Linked DNA regions of Homo sapiens: region 2 is linked to region 1. The links are contacts of gene promoters, found by promoter capture Hi-C in human tissues and cell types (Jung and others, 2019). All regions are on one chromosome and are shown on one strand. The core of a region is centred on a gene start or on the middle of the fragment in contact, and the rest is flanking DNA. Distances in the headings are between cores, read along the strand shown.

Region 1 (4,086 bases), core at 647-3,146:
AAAATATTTAACCATAGGTTTTCAGCTAAACACCCAAATTCTTAAGCACGTTCAAAATAAAGTTTTGCTGTTTGAATTGTTGATTTACCAGGCATTGTCAGAAACACGTCTGTGGATCACACATTCAAGCTTGTGCACAGGGCTGGGTTAAGATCCTCGACACGCCCCTGTAAACATCCTCTGGGCTCCACTCTGTACCACAATGGCATTCAGATCCAAATTAAAGCATGCAAGGGAAGCACTTGGAAAATCCTAAAACACTAGCTACCTGCTAGATATTATAAATATTAAATATCAATTCTAGAGTATGCAGCCTAGCATTTGCTTCAAAATTATGGAGGGAGGGAATAAATGAAGTGAGACAGGTCAGAAGTTGGTAATTATTGAACTTAGATGATGTATATAATCGCTAATTATACCATTTGCTCTCCGTTTGCATATGTTTGAAATTCCCTACCATAAAAAGTTTAAAAATAATGAAATCTAAGTGGAGTCTTGGAAATTTGAATTATAACCCTCTTCATTTCGCAGGTAAAACAAACACATCCAGAGAGGTTAAGTGACCTTCCTGAAGTCACACAGCTAGCTGCAGAGCCAGGAGTCAAAATTCTGAACTGGCAGCTCCGGGCCCTTTGTGTGGCCTCATACCAGGGTCCTCAGGCAGAAATAGGTTCCTGTGGCCACCCTCCCTAATATTCCCAAGTTCTTTCAGTTCCCAGGGGTGTCTGGGAGCCCGCTAGGAGGAGGGAGGGTGCTGACAAAACTGAAGCTGGAAGGCTAGAGCTCCGGGGGAGCCAGGAGGCCCTGGGCACGGGCCAAACGTAACAGGGCGGGGCGGAGGGGGTTCTCGCCTGCTTTCTGGATCACTGACACCTGGAGCAAGCCTGCCCAGGGAACCCGACCTTGGCCATGACATAGGCTTATTCTGCCCTCACTCTGCCCCCAATCTTTCCAGCCCATCTCCCTACTGCTGAAAGATCAGGGGTCCAGGAGGGATTCCTGGGATTCTGGGCTTTGGGAAAGTGGACTGGGGGCAAATGTTAACCACCAGGGGCACTGGGGGCGGAGAGGGGGACCCTAGAAAGAGGAACTGAGTGTTTGCAGCCGCCCCTCAGTAAGATCCAGGGGCGGGGGCAGGGAAGGGAGCAGCCGCGATCCCCCTAAGCCAGGGTAGGAAACAGGTCGAAGGTCCCCTGGCCTTTGGAAGCAGAGACTTCTTACTCCCAAAGTCCTTCGACTCTGACCGCTGGAAAGACTTGGGAGCTGCTGAGTGCGCCCGGAGGACCCCGCCGCGCTGGGGCTGTGCGTGCAGCAAACCCAAGCCGCTGGCCAGGCTTGCGAGAAAGACCTCCACGCGTGGGGGGACCGTGGCGCCCTAGGTCCTCTGTCACATTCCGGGCCCTGTCACATTAGGCTGGGTTCGGAGACGTGACTGCATCTGGCCCCCCAGTCGCCCCGGCCCAGACCACCCATCCAGAATCCCCGGACTCGCCCTTCTCTCCACTCTGTCCACAGGCTGCCCATCTGGGGACCCCAGAATCTCGCCCCCTTCTCCGTCGGGCTCCCCAGGGCCTCCCTCCCCCTCGTCTGCACGCAAAGCTCCCTTAGGTCCCTTTAAGGAACAACTGGCCCCTGGTCTCTATTTCCCCCATACGATAAAGGGCACCGGGTGTTCCCGCCCGAGGGTGCGGACTCCTCGACCCTGAACTGCCACCCCCAGAAGGCCTTGAGCCCTGCGGCTCCAGGAAGACGGGTCCGTGCGCCTCCGCGTAGACTCGGCTCTCGGTCCTACGCCTGCCGCGCGCCCGCAGCCCGCCTGGCCCCGGGAAGCCTCACCATCGCTGCCGCTGTCCTCGCCCGCGCACCTCTCAGCTGGGCCTGCCCGCCCCGACTGCTCCAGATACAGCCGCCTCCGCCGTTGTGACACACCGGGAGGGGGGGACGCCGGGGACAGGCGCGCCGGGCCCGCAGCTGCCCCCCGGCATCACAGTGCCGGGGAGGGGCGGGCAGGTCACAAAGGCCCCTCCCCGCCCACCCGCGGCTCAAATCTCCGGGTCCTCGGTCCCGCCTCAGCAGCCGGGGGCGCTCGCAGCGGGGACTGCGCCCGCGGGGGAGGCTGCCCTATTACCAAAGCGCACGTGTCCACGTTCCAACACCGCCGGCGAGAGCAGCCTTCGTGACCCCAGCTGCCGGAGAAAGAAATGTAAAATGCAGCCAGGCGAATCGCGCGGGTCTCCCCAAACTTCCGTTCTCCTCCGACCCGCTGGAAAGGCTCCTGACTGGGGTGCAGCTGACCGGAGCGGGCTGCAGCGGGCCCGGGTGCCAAGGTGCCGTCTCAGCTGGGCGCCCTAGGGCCGTGTGTGCTTGGCAAGCTGCAGGGCCTCTGCTCCCAAAGCCTGTGCCTCCTGCCGCCAAGGCCCGCCTGGTTGCTGGAGACGGAAATGAGATGGCATACACAGAGCTCCTGGTACAGGCAGGTGCTGAAGACTGTTCCCGTTTTTACCCTCTCCCCGGATACCTCGCACCTCCACCGGGATTTTCAAATCTCCCCCCTTGATCCCTTCCTACTTTTAAGCCCCAAACGTGTCCAAGTCACATCTCCTATGTAATCCAGAACTCATACCAGGGTTCCCCTGCCTCTGCCCAGTAGTAAGACCCGCCAGATGCTGTTGGTTGCCCCCTGCTCGGGAAGGGGTGGGCACTTGGTAAAAGCCCCTCTTCACACTTTAGATGTTGGCCACGTTGTCACCCTGCCCATCTCCCCTCACTTCCCCCCAGGTGGGTGAGGGGCTGGATGGTCTTTGTTCCTTGTTCTCACTGCTGTTTCTTGTTCTTTCCCTCCAGTGGTCAGTTCCATTCATGTTGAAAGGTGTACCCCAGCCTCTCTCTTCCACTTTCCTCAGCACCAAGCCAACGCAGGCAAATTCATAGGTTTTCCTTAAGACAATACCACTTTAGCCAGACGTGGTAACTCCCCAAGTTTCCAAGCACAGTTAGAGATCTTCCTACCCTTCTGCTCCTAAGACATGCCTGCTTGTGGCCAATAGAGAATGAGAGCAGATTTCTGCTTACCTATGCGGCAATCTGTTCTGTTGGCCACCCATTCATAAACGATAGTACATGTGTCGTAATCATCTTTGCATTTGAGAGAGTACCAAACACAGTGCTTTACCCACTGATACAAACGGTACTTAGTAAAGCATGCGTTGAATTTTTGTCTATCTTATAATGTAAGATCCTGACAATTAAGACTCAGGATTAAGCTAATTGTGCCAAGCACATGATAAATGGTCAATAAAGGATTTTGGTTATTAGTATAACTCTATGTGTATTTCTCTTCCAAACTCTCCCATAGCATATTCTATTACTTCTTCCATAGCATTTCTTTTATTTTTTATTTTTTTTGATGGAGTCTTGCTCTGTCGCCCAGGCTGGAGTGCGGTGGTGTGATCTAGGCTCACTGCAACCTCCGCCTCCCGGGTTCAAGTGATTCTCCTGCCTCAGCCTCCCGAGTAGCTGGGACTACAGGCGCGTGCCACCACGCTCGGCTAATTTTTTGTATTTTTAGTAGAGACGGGGTTTCACCGTGTTACCCAGGATGGTCTCAATCTCCTGACCTTGTGATCCACCCATCTTGGCCTCCCAAAGTGCTGGGATTACAGGCGTGAGCCATCGCGCCCAGCCCCATAGTATTTATCACTTTCTTTTTCTTTTTTTTTTTTTTTTGAGACAAAGTCTCGCTCTGTTGCCCAGGCTGGAGTGCAGTGGTGCGATCTGAGCTCACTGCAACCTCGCCTCCTGGGTTCAAGCGATTCTCCTGCCTCAGCCTCCTGAGTAGCTGGGATTACAGGCAGGCGCCACCATGCCCGGCTAATATGTATCTTTAGTAGAGACAGGGTTTCACCATGTTGTTCAGGCTGGTCTCGAACTCCTGACCTCGTGATCCACCTGCCTCGGCCTCCCAAAGTGCTGGAATTACAGGCGTGAGTCACCGTGCCCAGCCGTATTTATCACTTTCTAGTTTGGAGTATAGGGGTGTGTGTGTGTGTGTGTGTGTGTGTGTGTGTGTGTGTCTAAACACTCTAC
Region 2 (4,086 bases), core at 1,190-3,689, 720 kb after region 1:
GGGTAGGGAGCTTAGGAATTCTGTGTACCAGCCTTCTAAGTTTCCGTTAAGTCTGACATTACTTAAAAATAAAGTTTTTAAGGCCGGGCGCAGTGGCTCACACCTGTAATCCCAGCACTTTGGGAGGCCAAGGAGGGTGGATCACTTGAATTCAGGGAGTTCGAGACCAGCCTGGCCAACATGGTGAAACCCCGTCTCTACTAAAAATACAAAAGTTATCCGGGCATGGTGGAGTGTGCCTGTAGTTCCAGCTACTCGAGAGGCTGAAGCAGGAGAACTGCTTGAACCCGGAGGCTGAGGCTGCAGTGAGCTGAGATCGTGCCACTGCACTCCAGCCTGGGCGACAGAGTGAGACTCCACCTCAAAAAAAAATACTAAAATAAAATAAACAAAGTTTTTAAAAAACCCAACCCAGAGTTACAGTAGAGTGGAAAAATGATAAAAGGAGCTCTTAACAGTTATTAACATATTTTGTAAGTAATTTAAGCAAGTGAAGAAAAAACTGAATTGCTTTCACTTCTAAAATGTCTCCTGACTCAGTGTTCTCCGTAAATTGCGTAAAAGATTCCTTTCTAATACCACGACACTAGCTAAAATTTAATCTCACCCACCTTCCCATATACTCTCAAGAACCCGCACTGGATGTCAGTTTTCCTGTCTCACTAGCAGTACTGTTCAATTCATTTACCAAAAAATGCCTCCGCATTTTCCTGAAGTCTGCCGGTATGGGTTCTGCCACCCGCTGGGCATGCGGCCTTGGGTAAATCGCTTCACTCTGAGCCTGTTTCCTACAGTGCTGTCATGGTGATGCCTGCCTCATGGGGGAATTAAACAGATGGGTCAGTTCGGGCATGAGAAACACTTGAGACAGTGCATGGCACCAAAATTCATGTAACTTTTATGATAAAATATAAAACAAAAAGTAACTATGAAGAAAACTTGGCCAGGCGCGGTGGCTCATGCCTGTAATCCCAGCACGTTGGGAGGCTGAGGCGGGCGGATCACCTGAGGTCAGGAGTTTGAGACCAGCCTGGCCAACTTGGTGAAACCCGTCTCTACTAAAAATATAAACATCAGCCAGGCATGGTGGAGCGTGCCTGTAGTTCCAGCTACTTGGGAGGCTGAAGCAGGAGAATTACTTGAACCTGGGAGGCAGAGGTTACAGCGAGCCCAGATGGCACCACTGCACTCCAGCCTGGGCGACAGAGACAGACTCCCTCTCGGGACAAAACAAAAAACAAACAAAAAAAAAACTCAAAACTTAAAACCTCAAATATAGAATGTAATACTAACAGAAGTCTAATGATTAAAAACACTAATCCTATCTTAGAAAAAAAAATTGTTCTGGTTCTTGGTTGTCATGATAGTAAACAACTACAGATAACCCAAACGCCCCTTGGCTAAATGAGAGTCCCTCTACCCGATGAGTATTCTGCAGCTACTGGAAATCATGGCGTGCTGTGATTGAAAGGGCATTCTGTTATATAACACTGTCAACAGAATAGAACAGGATTCAGAAGCATATAGAAAAGTACGATCTTGTGTTTACAAGATACTTAACATGTTATGTGCACACAGACAAAAGTGAGGAAGTGTTAGGCTCTTTGAGGGGCAGGGCATGGAAGACTCCCTCAGGTGTGGTGGCTCCTGCTGGACACACGCCAGCAGGCTGGAGCCGGGGCCTTCTCGTTAATTCCTCTATGGCTGGGTCTCTCCCAGGCTTGCTTCCTCATCTGTAAGATTCTGGCTGTGTCGTGGCTGCTCACCATGACCTTTCAGCTTCTTTTCCACGCTAACTCGATAATCCTTGTATTTCCTAGGTTACGCTCCCAAGAATGGAAATTTCATTGGCCCAGTTCATCTTTTCTTGCGAGATGTGTTATAGATTACTGGCCAAGATATAGATTTGCTTGACAAGGGCAAGGAGGGGCAGGTACAGCTGCCAGATAACCTCTGAAAATTTCTGTAGAACCAGTGGAGAAATGAGACAAAAGAAGGCTTTCTGTTGAGCTGTAACTCCCTCTGGCATGGGGAACCTGTTATTAAACATAACACAGAACATAAATACCTGAATAGCTTATTTGTATACAAATTATCATTACAAAAGGATCACAAAGTAACATTTAGTAGTCCTACAAAACATTAAACATGTAACAGAGAGAAACTAAAAACTGAAGTATTCCAAACAATCAACAGTCAAACAAGAATAAATCTAAAATTCTAATGAAAGAAAGGCACATCTCTGACCAGGTACAGTGGCTCACACCTGTAATCCCAGCACTGTAGGAGGCTGAGGCGGGTGGATCACCTGAGTTCAGGAGTTCGAGACCAGCCTGACCAATATGATGAAACCCTGTCTCTACTACAATTACAAAAATTAGCTGGGCGTGGTGGCATGCGCCTGTAATCCCAGCTACTTGGGAGGCTGAGACAGGGCAATGGCTTGAACCCAGGAGGTGGAGGTTGCAGTGAGCTGAGATCCCGCCATTGCACTCGAGCCTGGACAAGAGTGAAACTCCGTCTCAAAAAAAAAAAAAAAGGCACATTTCTGTGGCTGGATTTTCATTTCCATTTTACTCAACAGAAAGCTAAAATACTGAGCAACTGACAGTCCTAGGGTGACATAACCACATCCCAACAATTAGAGAGCGGTGGCACAAAGAAGGGGATTGATTACTGGTATAAAACATGGCGCAGAGTTTGGAAACAGGCTGAGAAAGGGGGCCCTACAACTGACCTCTTCAATACAACACCAAATGAAGGAACTGAGATTAATTTAACTTCTTCTTGTTACAATCGCTATATATTCTTTGTGAAAAAAGTTTTTTTTTAAAACGCCCTTCCTTTCTCACCATGCTCTTAAGCTTCTCTGTTTGACAGGTCTTATCCTCTCTCCTTCCAGCAGAATGAAGTTTTTTTAAGTCTCAGCCTCTCCCTCTCCGGTCAGAGTAACTCAAATCCCTTCTCCGAAGTCATCTTTGACCCCTTCAAATCACCAACTCAAAGGCTCTTTTCCGTTGTCATTTTCCTAATACTTCTCTGCATCATTCAGCAATGCAGACCTTGTCGCTGCGGAGTCTGTCCTGTGACCATGAGTGGTACCACCGTATGAGGGCTCAATGACACCTACCATGGGGCTGCCTGGCCTGCCAGGAGCCCCATTCCTCCGGCTTACATGATGTAGGGTAATCCGCAGTGCTGAAGGCACTGTTATTCCATCATTCGCAGCCAAAAATATCCTAAGCGACGCAACCTTCATCACATGCTCCCACCCTGGGGGTCATCCAGTCCCACCTACTCTTTCTTCAATAGCACCAGTGAGAAATGTCCTTTCCTGTTACCACTACCATCAGCGGTTCATGCCCCTTCCGCTCTAATACAGGCCCACCTCGTTGTACTGTGTTTCCCTTTACTGAACGTGCAGATATTGCATTTCTTACAAACTGAAGATTTCGTGCCGACCCTGCGAGTAGCAAGTCTATCAGGGCCATTTTTCCAACAGTATGTGCTCACTTCATGTCTCTGTGTTGCATTTTGGTAATTCTCACAATATTTCAAACATTTTCATGATTATTATTAAATCTGTTATGTTGATCTGTGACTAGTGATCTTGGATATTACAACTGTAAATGTTTTGGGGCACCAAGGATTGTGCCCACATAAAACAGCAAACTCAATTGATAAATGCGTGTGTTCTGTCTGCTCCACAGACTGGCCAGTTCCCTGTCTCCCTCTCCTTGGGCTTCCCTATTCCCAGAAGCACATTTAAACCAGGCCAATTAATAATCCTACAATGGCCTTTAAGTGTTCAAGTGTAAGGAAGAGCACCATGTCTCTCACTTTAAATCAAAAGCTAGAAATGATTAAGCTTCATGAAGAAGGCGTGCTGAAAGCTGAAACAGGCCAAAAGCTAGGCCTCTTGAGCCAGTTAGCCAAGTTGTGAATGCAAAGGAAAAGTTATTGAAGGAAATAAAAAGCACTGCTCCAGTGAACACAGTAATGAGAAGGCAAAACAGCCTTATTACTGATAAGGAGAAAGTCTGAGTGGCCTGGAGAACAGATCAAAGCAGCCACAACATTCCCTGA

What was found. Contacts are between HindIII fragments. The study calls those that stand out against the background at their distance.
Region 2: a contact is called between a fragment that was not itself captured here and the fragment with the promoter of TUBA8 in region 1, in 1 of the 25 tissues and cell types used here (spleen).

What each region holds. Positions count from the first base shown.
Region 1 is chr22:18,108,619-18,112,704 of GRCh38, reverse strand. TUBA8 (tubulin alpha 8) reads right to left here and starts at 1,896. Exons shown (of 5, transcript NM_018943.3): 1 at 1,837-1,896. The coding sequence starts at 1,839. RefSeq lists a silencer at 1,730-2,119 and an enhancer at 2,200-2,399. The HindIII fragment of the contact is 17,974 bases long and covers 1-4,086 here.
Region 2 is chr22:17,385,109-17,389,194 of GRCh38, reverse strand. All of the region lies in intron 1 of CECR2 (CECR2 histone acetyl-lysine reader), which reads right to left. Among named protein-coding and RNA genes, the nearest start is that of CECR2, 18 kb to the right of the region's middle. The HindIII fragment of the contact is 3,728 bases long and covers 576-4,086 here.